3 separate regions of the Homo sapiens genome follow, and all the other regions are linked to region 2. Evidence: promoter capture Hi-C in 16 types of primary human blood cells and fetal thymus (Javierre and others, 2016). All regions are on one chromosome and are shown on one strand. The core of a region is centred on a gene start or on the middle of the fragment in contact, and the rest is flanking DNA. Distances in the headings are between cores, read along the strand shown. Region 1 holds the start of BCL2L2 (BCL2 like 2). Region 2 holds the start of AP1G2 (adaptor related protein complex 1 subunit gamma 2). Region 3 overlaps DHRS4-AS1 (DHRS4 antisense RNA 1).

Evidence for each region. The method cuts DNA at HindIII sites, captures the fragments that hold promoters and counts their contacts. A CHiCAGO score of 5 or more calls a contact.
Region 1: the fragment with the promoter of BCL2L2 here is called in contact with the fragment with the promoter of AP1G2 in region 2 in 2 of 17 cell types (megakaryocytes and erythroblasts); the score reaches 6.2 in megakaryocytes.
Region 3: a fragment that was not itself captured here is called in contact with the fragment with the promoter of AP1G2 in region 2 in 1 of 17 cell types (total CD8 T cells); the score reaches 5.4 in total CD8 T cells.

The regions. Positions count from the first base shown.
Region 1 is chr14:23,305,461-23,308,779 of GRCh38, forward strand. BCL2L2 (BCL2 like 2) reads left to right here and starts at 1,373. Exons shown (of 4, transcript NM_004050.5): 1 at 1,373-1,434; 2 at 1,732-1,819; 3 at 2,300-2,739. The coding sequence starts at 2,308. BCL2L2-PABPN1 (BCL2L2-PABPN1 readthrough) reads left to right here and starts at 1,373. Exons shown (of 8, transcript NM_001387346.1): 1 at 1,373-1,434; 2 at 1,732-1,819; 3 at 2,300-2,739. The coding sequence starts at 2,308. RefSeq lists an enhancer at 2,232-3,065. The HindIII fragment of the contact is 2,126 bases long and covers 620-2,745 here.
Region 2 is chr14:23,566,196-23,569,950 of GRCh38, forward strand. AP1G2 (adaptor related protein complex 1 subunit gamma 2) reads right to left here and starts at 1,596. Exons shown (of 22, transcript NM_003917.5): 1 at 1,544-1,596; 2 at 916-1,124; 3 at 367-491; 4 at 83-224. The coding sequence starts at 1,119. JPH4 (junctophilin 4) reads right to left here. Exons shown (of 6, transcript NM_001146028.2): 6 at 1,843-3,522. The coding sequence ends at 3,439. AP1G2-AS1 (AP1G2 antisense RNA 1) reads left to right here. Exons shown (of 4, transcript NR_110555.1): 3 at 1-1,227; 4 at 1,494-1,881. RefSeq lists enhancers at 809-898, 929-1,168 and silencers at 1,649-1,698, 2,688-2,787. The HindIII fragment of the contact is 3,957 bases long and covers 1,097-3,755 here.
Region 3 is chr14:23,947,092-23,950,443 of GRCh38, forward strand. The region is part of intron 1 of DHRS4-AS1 (DHRS4 antisense RNA 1); the gene reads right to left. Among named protein-coding and RNA genes, the nearest start is that of DHRS4, 5.0 kb to the right of the region's middle. The HindIII fragment of the contact is 7,541 bases long and covers 1-3,352 here.

The DNA.
Region 1 (3,319 bases), core at 123-2,622, 260 kb before region 2:
TAGTTTTTACCTTTTTTTTTTTTTGAGATAGAGTCTCGTTCTATCACCCAGTCTGGAGTGCAGTGGCATGATCTCAGCCTCCTGGGTTCAAGTGATTCTCATGCCTCAGCCTCCTGAGCAGCTGGGATTACAGGCTGGCTAATTTTTGTATTTTACGTCTGGCTAATTTTTGTATTTTTAGTAGAGATGGGGTTTTGCCATGTTGGTCAGGCTGGTCTCGAACTCCTGGCCTCAAGTGATCCACCCGCCTTGGCCTCCCAAAGTGTTGGGATTACAGGTATGAGCCACCGAACCCAGCTAGTTGTTACTGTTATTGCTGCAGAAAAGACCTTGCTTCTCCAGTGACCATAAGGGAAGATGGTAATACAGAGGCTTGGATTGGAGGTAGAAGCAAAGGGAGCTAGCAGAATAGGAGAATTAGGTTGCCTCTTTCTGGCCTTTGGTTGGGGCACTCTTTAAAAAAGTGCCAGATCCAAGAGCCCAGGGGGCTGGCTGTGAGTGCCCTCATGTGGATCAGCTATGGTCAGACTGCTTCACGCCTGTGACCTGCCCTGTATAAATATACTGCCATGTATAAATAATGGCCCCATATATATGTAATCTGGAAGGATAAACATCAAGCTTAACACTGGCAACCTGCAGGGAGGGAAGTGGAATTGGGTGTGTATGTGTGTGTGTGTTTGAGAACCTGTATTTTATTACTCCGCACGTCTTTATTGTTTGATTTTTTTCATAATGAGAATGAGTTTGTGTGTTGGGTAAAAAAAAGAAAAAGAAAAAAACCCCACTAAAATCAATCTAATTACAAAAGAAGATGAATTAAAGAAAAGTACCGAGAGAAACTGCTTGTGATCCAAGTCCTGGCTCCCTAATGCCTGGCTGAAGCCCAGCCCACAAAGAGAACACTGGGTTAAAGGTCCTGGAGAAAAGATGGGAAAGGTTTGGTGTCTATGTGGTGTCTGCTAGCCCCATAAGGGTAAGGCACCTGGTAGACGGTTCCCAGCTTAATGGGAACTGCTCCTGTTTTCCAGGCACACAGTTCAGGGCTGGAAAAGTTCAACAAGTGCATGGAACATCGGAAACCTCCTGAAAATGCTAAATTTGCCCCGAGATGTCCCGAAGTCCGGCATATTTCTCTGGGCAGCCTAGAGGCTCAGGAGCCCAGCCCAGCCCAGCCCACCGTGCCCTCTCAGCCAGCCCTTCTTTGCCTTCAGCAGCCCTCCCTCTTCCTGAGTAGTGGCCCTTTGCAGGCCTGCGTCCCAGCCCCGCCCCTCTCTCTGGACGCATCTCTGGGCCCCATCATCACCCGGCGCCGGGCCCTCCCTCTGCCCCCCCCTTTCTCCTCCCTCCTTCCTTCCCTCCCTTCCTCCCTCTCTCCCTCCCTCCCAGCTCCTGCACCAGGAAACGGCCCGGATCCCGGCAGCGGCCTGACCCGTGAGATCCCTAACCTGGCAGGCGGGCGGGGTTGGAGACTGGCTGAGGTGGGGGTAAGGGAGGAGCTGGGCCTTTGGGCTGCACTAGGGGGAACCGGGAATAGAGATGGTGTCGGCAGGAAGCCCTTGGCCTTGGGTTTCCCGGGAGGACAGTCATTAAACATGGATTCGGCCACACAGCTGGTAGAGCGTTGGGGGCAGGGGCCTAGGCCCAGAGCTGCAACCCTAGCCCTTCCCAGGCCAGAACCTGATCCCTGGCCTTCCCCTCCTGGTTCTGATCTCCCCCTCCCCTTTCCAGGGCTCCACGCTGGCCAGGAGGATGAAAGGCCCCAGCTGGGGGCTCCTTGCCACCAGTGCTGTGTCTTAAGAGCTGCCATCCCGGCTGGGTGAGTGTCTCCTTCCTTTCTCTGTCTGGAGTAACCCATTGCGTCTCCCACCTTTCTCTTCAGCCCATCTGCTCCCCCTCATCTTGTGTCTCTGCCAACATCTTTACATCTTGCATTTGGGGAGGTCCTAAGACCCTTCCTCTAGCCAAGAAGGTGTGGACTAAGGAGACCCGGGGGTGGGGGTGTTGTAGGGGTGTCATTGAGCTGACGTTGTCTTATTGTGAAAAGAATCTAAAGTATCCTAAACAGAAAATTTACTTGTTTTACATTTAATTTGGCATATTAGGAATGTAATGGCCAGCCACTCACAGCCTAGTCTCATATCATGACTTAATTCCCTTGTTCTTGCCTCTCCCTGTCCAGTGAGTCCTGAGCATTTCCTCTCTCCTCCTCATCTCACTGGGTTGGTCAAACCAGAAGTGCTCCTTCTGATTCTCTCTTCATATATTCATGCCAGTCTTTCATCCTTGCCTCTTATAGCCGCCCGGATGGCGACCCCAGCCTCGGCCCCAGACACACGGGCTCTGGTGGCAGACTTTGTAGGTTATAAGCTGAGGCAGAAGGGTTATGTCTGTGGAGCTGGCCCCGGGGAGGGCCCAGCAGCTGACCCGCTGCACCAAGCCATGCGGGCAGCTGGAGATGAGTTCGAGACCCGCTTCCGGCGCACCTTCTCTGATCTGGCGGCTCAGCTGCATGTGACCCCAGGCTCAGCCCAACAACGCTTCACCCAGGTCTCCGATGAACTTTTTCAAGGGGGCCCCAACTGGGGCCGCCTTGTAGCCTTCTTTGTCTTTGGGGCTGCACTGTGTGCTGAGAGTGTCAACAAGGAGATGGAACCACTGGTGGGACAAGTGCAGGAGTGGATGGTGGCCTACCTGGAGACGCAGCTGGCTGACTGGATCCACAGCAGTGGGGGCTGGGTAAGAAGCTTCTCAATTGCCGCTCTGCACATCCTTCTGCAAAGCTGGTCTCCAGGGGGAAGATGGGGGCTCTGATTGGAGGCTGAGGCAGCTATGTTGGGAATGAGGTACGGGGCTGAGTCTCCCCGTCTGGATGGAATTAGATTGAGAGATGCCTGGACTCTGCACTCCAGGGCTGCCATGCAGTCAACACTGGATGGGCTCATGGTCCCAAGCAGAGGACAGAATACACACCCAAGGAGTGCCTGCAGGGGAATGTTGTCAGGGACTTTTTACATCTGAGTCATGGCGTGGGAGGTGGGGAGGACCAGGGATGGGTGGTGGTCAGGCAAGCCTTGGCAAAGGATGCTAGTTCTGAGCAGAATTTTTCGCCAAGGAAAGGATGGAATTCACTGGAGGCAGAGTGGGCAGATGAACCAGTCTCTCAGGGTGGGGGTGCACCTGGGGGGATCAGAGGGGCTTGCAGGGAGAAGAGCTTTGGCCAGAGAGGAGCTGGGTATGGGGTAGTGCTCGCAGTGGATGGAACTGGAACTCTTCCTCTCCTCTTCTCTCCACTCTTTCCTCTCCTGATATCCCTTTC
Region 2 (3,755 bases), core at 346-2,845:
GAGATGGACCCCTGCATCTACTACTATATAGCACGCAGCAGGCAGTGTGCAGGAGCACGTGCCAGGAGTCCCGCCATCTCACCTTCTTGCGCACGTAGGGACTGGGCTGCAGGAGCAGTTTCTCCACCTCTGGGGCCAGGTCTCGGCACATCTCAGCAGAGCCCATGGTGCTCAAAGTGCACAAGGCCAGGCCTTGTACTGGCTGAATCCCCTGGCTCAGGTCACTGCAGGGTTTGGGAGGACGGTCAGTCAAACCTCTGAGAAAATCAGTCCTTTTCAATACCCACAACAGGCAGTCCCCTGGGATTTCCAAGGTCCCTACTCTCCCATCTCCCTGATTCCAAGTGATTGCCAGAACCCTCTCACTTCTTGATGCTGTTGGTAATGAGCAGGTGGGCATCGTGCCTCTCATCCAATAGAAGCATGGCCCCCAGGTAGCCCACCCTCTTGTCTGTGAATCTGGAGGAGGCGATCAGTTTCAGGCACTCCATCTATAGTGAAGGGGGCAGACCAGGAAGAGGCAGGGGTGAAACCATAGACACTCACATCCCTGTTCCATCTTCCTCTTTAAAACCAGATTAACCTGTGGGGCATCATATCTCATCACTCTCCCTTCAACAAGAGGAGAAGCTTAGGAAATTCAGGCGTTAGTGGGTAGGAGGAACTAGGAGTTGAGGAGGATGGGAGCGGAGAGGAGGAGATGCCTGCCCTAAAGGAGGCTGGCCAGAGAATGAAGGGTTCAGGCCAGCTGATGACCAGTAGGGGTAGCAATGGGGAAAGAGGTTTGCAGTGCAGGCTGTGAAGACTCTGAAATTGTAGAATTTAAAAAACCAGGGCATAAACAGGTGAGAGAGTCTGGGACTCTGCCCCACTAGCCTTCATCAAGCTCAGGAGGGAGGTATTCCTGGCCAGTACCTGTCCAAAGTGGGCGGGGTAGCCCAACATGTGGACGTAGAGCAGTTTGGCCAGCTGCCGGTGCCTGTGCACTGGGTCCCCGTCGCGGAAGGAGGCCCGGATGTGGGCACACTCCTTTTGGATCACCTCCCGCTCCTGGGCCTGAGTCTTGGCCCCGCGAATCTCTTCGATGAGGTCCTGAAGCTTCAGCGAAGGCACCACCATCCTGACTGGCAGAGTCCGGGAGTGGAGAAACACTCTCTGGTCGGGCGTGCCTGGGCTTTCGGCCCAGGCCCGTCCTGTGTCAAGACCCTAAGAGCCCGGGTCCCACAGGTACCCTAAAATTGCGCCCGCATTTTACCTTTCCCGAAGTGGGTCTCCAAATTCCGCGCCCACCCCACCGCCCGAGAAGCCCACTACGCATGCGTCCGCACCCCACCGGCGCCCCTTCCTATTGAGCATGCGCGGGAGCCCCACCTATTTCTCTCTACCGTTTCCTCCCCCTACCTGGTACCCCATCCCTAGCTCAGCCATTGCTTTTTTTTCCACGACCCTCCGCTGTTTCTTCCGCGAGCTTCCTCCCCCGATTTCCATCTCAGGCAGCGGCAGCGGCAGCGACAGCCTGCCTACCCCAGGACTCCAGCCTCACCTGGCTTCTGCCTCAACTCCGCTCCTCTGCCCCCCAGCGCTTCCTGGTACGGGGCCGAGCAGGGGTTGGTGCTCCGTGCGGTCCTTCCCTCTCCCCGCCTCCACCACGGGACCCCGCCCTCCTGGGCCGACTGCAGAGCCTTCCTGAATCCTCTGACCTCGGGCCTCAGGCTTTAGCGGAGAGACAGCATGATAGGCCTGGAGTTCTTCAAGAGGCCTCCTCGCACATCCTTACCACCCGGAGAGCCTCAGTTTGGATTTGAAGCCATCGCACCCCAAAGGAGATGACAATCCCCCCCCTTTTTTGAACTTTTTTATTAATATATTTTTTTTGTTAAATTTCTTTGTATTTTTTTCCTGCAAGACTTGGTGTTGGCGGCACTGTTGTAGTTTAACTTCAATCCCAAATTCCATGAAATAGAAATCAGAAGTAAAGGTTGAGAGGGGAGGAAGGAGGGAGGCAAGCCAAGGAATAAACAAGAGTTTGACTAGAAAAAAAGAAGAGGGTATGTGTGGTGGGCATTCCTGGGCAAGGCCATTCCTTGAGGGAGGGGGTTGGCAGGCAGCTTGCCTCTGCCTCATGCAGGGGAGGGAGGAAAGATCCCCTGGGGACCCTGCAGTCCCCTCTTCCTAGGGCTTCCTGCTCCCAGGGGAAAAACTAATACCAGAGAGGGATCAGCCACAACCTCAAACAGGGCTCTCCACCCACCTGTCACCCGGGTTTGACTCCCACCTCTGCCCTGCCTGGGAAGCATGTGAGATCAGCTATCTTTGATCCCCTCCTTCTGTTGTTTTCCCATTTCACAAGATTCTGATGTAAAGGGGGAAGGGATATAACCCATTTTGGGACTACTAAACTTGTCACAGCTTCTGCTTCCATGTGAGCTCCTGTTATCTTGTCTGGTCCTATCCCCCAGAAGTGCCTCCTCCCACCACAACTCCCAGAGTTGGGATGTGGGGGCCTTGCTCAAGTGCCTCTAACCCTCTGCAGTAGAAATGTCTTCTTCAGGCCCCTTAGGAATTTAATCAAAGGCCACAAGTGAGTCCAGACCAACCAAATAAACTATTATGGGGGAGACAGAAGGGTGGGAGAAGTCAGTGGCAAAGTCTGGGCAGGGTGGACTTGACTGCATTGGATATTCTCTGTTCCTTTACACGTTGCTCTTGGCATGGCATGCCACCAGAGGGGGCTGGAGGAGGGGCTGGCCGATGAGGAGAAAAAGAGGGAAATGCTGGGGAGTTACTCTACTTTTCACTTCCCTTCTCTCCTTCAGGGAAGGATGGAATTGGGCAGTAACCCAGCTCAGTGCTTGGAGGTAAGATAATAGCCTCCAAGATTAGAGGTGGAGGATGCACCTCCTGCAGCTTTTTCACTAGGCCTCAGAGGGACAGCAGGCCCCTTAGGCTAGGGAGCCACAGCAGCTCAGCCAGTGCCTTGCCCGACATTCAATCACTCCTTCTTCATTTTCTTCCTCCTCTCCATTCAGCTTCCAGGAGTCTCCTTAGGACACCAAACCCCCACCCGCAGCGAAGTTGAGGTCTAAAGAAAAGGTGGGAGGGCGTGGAGCAATGGTCTGACTTAGATTTGTGTGTCTCAGAGAAGACAGCAACTCTGAGAGAGAAAAGCCCTTCATATGTAAACAATCTAGAGAAAGAAGGGGTTGGGATGGGGAAGGGAGTGAGGAATACAGAGACAGATCCAGAAGAAATGAGATAATCTGAAAGAAGACAGGGAAAGAAAAAGCGAGAGAAAAAAACAAAGGAGCACAGAAAAGAAAGGAAGAAGAGAAAGAAAGATAGGAGAAAACACAGCCAGGAAGAGGAGAAGAGAAAAAAGGCAGGTCAAAGGGGTGAAGAGGCACGCAACCAAAGCCAGAACCAGGCCAGGAAGTAGCCTCAGGTGAGGAGCTGGGAGAACAGGAATGCCAGGCTGAGGTCCAGGAGGGCCACGGCTCCCACCACCAGGGGGTTGGCAGCTCCCTAGAGAGACAGAGGGGGAAGCAGACTCAGTCCCCGAGGACAGGGCCCACCTTCCTGCCCTGACTGAGGTGGCAGAGCTGAAGGGTCTCAGGCACCTCCCTGCACAGCCTGGAGCAGGGGGATCGCCAACATTTGTTTTGGATTGCAAAACCCCCTCTTCTCCCAGGCAGGGCCCCACCTTTCCTCTGACACCTTCAATGCAGGGACAGCCCTTCCACCTCCTCCCTCTAGTC
Region 3 (3,352 bases), core at 464-2,963, 380 kb after region 2:
TAACTCATTTTATTAGGTCAGTATCATCCTGAAAACAAAGCCTGGCAGAGACACAACAAAAAAAAGAGAATTTTAGGCCAATATCCCAGATGAAAATCAATGCAAAAACCCTCAATAAAATACTGGCAAAACGAATCCAGCAGCACATCAAAAAGGTTATCCACCATGATCAAGCCGACTTCATCCCTGAGATGCAAGGCTTGTTCAACATATGCAAATCAATAAACGTAATCAATCACATAAACAGAACCAATGATAAAAACCACATGATTAATTATTTAGATACAGAAAGGCCTTCGATAAAATTGAACACCCCTTCATGCTAAAAACTCTCAATAAACTAGGTATTGATGGGATGTATCTCTAAATAATAAGAGCTATTTATGACAAAGCCACAGCCAGTATCATACTGCATGGGCAAAAACTGGAAGCATTCCCTTTGAAAAAAGGCACGAGACAAGGATGCCCTCTCACAACTACAACTCCTATTCAACATAGTATTGGAAGTTCTGGCTAGGGCAATCAGGAAAGAGAAAGAAATAAAAGGTATTCAAACAGGAAGAGAGGAAGTAAAATTGTCTCTGTTTGCAGATGACATGATTGTATATTTAGAAAACCTTATCGTCTCAGCCCAAAATCTCCTTAAGCTGATAAGCAACTTCAGCAAAGTCTCAGGATACAAAATCAATGTGCAAAAATGACAAGCATTCCTATACGCCAATAACAGACAATAGAGAGCCAAATCATGAGTGAACTCCCATTCACAATTGCTACAAAGAGAATAAAATACCTAGGAATCCAACTTACAAGGGATGTGAAGGACCTCTTCAAGGAGAAATACAGACACTGCTCGAGGAAATAAGTGAGGACACAAACAAATGGAAAAACATTCCATGCCCATGGATAGGAAGAATCAATATCGTGAAAATGGCCATACTGCCCAAAGTAATTTATAGATTCAATGCTATCCCCATCAAGCTACCATTGACTTTCTTCACAGAATTGGAAAAAACTACTTTGAATTTTATATGGAACCAAAAAAGAGCCAATATAATGAAGACAATCCTAAGCAAAAAGAACAAAGCTGGACGCATGATGCTACCTCACTTCAAACTATACGGCAAGGCTACAGTAACCAAAACAGCATGGTACTGGTACCAAAACAGATATCTAGACCAATGGAACAGAACAGAGGCCTCAGAAACAACACCACACATCTACAACCATCTGATCTTTGACAAACCTAACAAAAACAAGCAATAAGGAAAAGATTTCCTATTTAATAAATGGTGTTGGGAAAACTGGCTAGCCATATGCAGAAAACTGAAACTGGACCCCTTCCTTACACCTTATAAAAAAATTAACTCAAGATGGATTAAAGACTTAAACATAAGACCTAAAACCATAAAAACCCTAGAGGAAAACCTAGGACATACCATTCAGGACATAGGCATGAGCAAAGACTTCACGACTAAAATACCCAAAGCAACAGCAAAAAAAGCCAGAATAGACAAATGGGACTTAATTAAACTAAAGAGCTTCTGTACACCAAAAGAAACTATAATTAGAGTGAACAGAGAACCTACAGAATGTGAGAAAATTTTTGCAATCTATCTATCTGACAAAGGGCTAATATCCAGAATGTACAAAAAACTTAAATTTACAAGAAAAAAAAACCATCAAAAAGTGGGCTAAGAATGTGAACAGATACTTCTCAAAAGAAAACATTTATGCAGCCAAGAAACATGAAAAAATGCTCATCATCACTGCTCATTAGAAAAATGCAAATCAAAACCACAATGAGATACCATCTCACACCAGTTAGAATGGCAATCATTAAAATGTCAGGAAACAACAGATGCTGGAGAGGATGTGGAGAAATAGGAACGCTTTTATACTGTTGGTGGGAGTGTAAATTAGTTCAACCATTGTGGAAGACAGTGTGGCCATTCCACAAGGATCTAGAACTACAAATACCATTTGACCCAGCAATCCCATTACAGGGTATATATCCAAAGGATTATAAATCATTCTACTATAAAGACACATGCATATATATGTTTATTGCAGCACTGTTCACAATAGAAAAACCTTGGACCAACCCAAATGCCCATCAATGATAGACTGGAAAAAGAAAATGTGGCACATATACACCATGGAATATTATGCAGCCATAAAAAATGATGAGTTCATGTCCTTTGCAAAGACCTGGATGAAGCTGGAAACCGTCATTCTCAGCAAACTAATGAAAGAACAGAAAACCAAACACTGCACGTTCTCACTCATAAGTGGAAGTTGAACAATGAGAACACATGGACACAGGGAGGGCAATATCACACACCATGGCCTTTTCAGGGGGGTGGGGGGCTAGGGGAGGGATAGCATTAGGAGAAATACTTAATGTAGATGATGGGTTGATGGGTGCAGAAAACCACCATGGCACATGTACACTTGTGTAACAAACCTGCACATTCTGCAAGTGTATCTCAGAACTTAAAGTATAATTATTTAAAAAAAGAAATTAAAAAGTGGGGATTGGAGCATAGAAGAAAGAAAAGAAAAGAAATTTGAAGGACAGTATGTATAGTGTCATTTCAATTGTGGAAAAAATTTTTAAAAGAAAAATGCATGTAAATGTACAGGAAACTTCTGGAAGGATACACAAAGCCAAGAGCTATATGGGAAGAAGGTAAAAGAACCATAGGGAAGAGTTACCTTTTACTTTTCAAATAATTTTCTGTCCCTTTTTAAAATAATGTGTTATTTATATAATTTAATGAGTAGATGTGTTGATTTGAAAAACACACTGATCCTGAAAGTTTAAATTCCAGTTGAGAGAAAATTGATTTCTATGAAAACTATGGATTGCCCAACAATGCCAGAAAACTGAAGTGTAACTATGCAACACACACAGTGGTCAAGGTTGTCATCAGTCACTCTGATTTCACATAGAGAATTTAAAACACCTAATTGGGTGCAGTGGCTCACGCCTGCTATCCCAGCACTTTTGGAGGCCAAGGCAGGAAGATCACTAGGTCAAGGGATCGAGATCATCCTGGCCAACATGGTGACACCCCGTCTCTACTAAAAATACAAAAATTAGCTGGGTGAGGTGGTATGCACCTGTGGTCCCAGCTACTTGGGAGGCTGAGGCAGGAGAATCACTTGAACCCAGGAGGCAGAGGTTGCAGTGAGCTGAGATTGTGCCACTGCACTCCAGCCTGGCGACAGAGCAAAACTCTGTCACAAAGTAAAAAAAAAAAAAGAAGAAGAAGTTAAAATGCCACAGTCCTTGGTGGACTTAACAAAAGAAGATGAATGTGGGAATAAAGACAAAGACAAAAGAGTATTT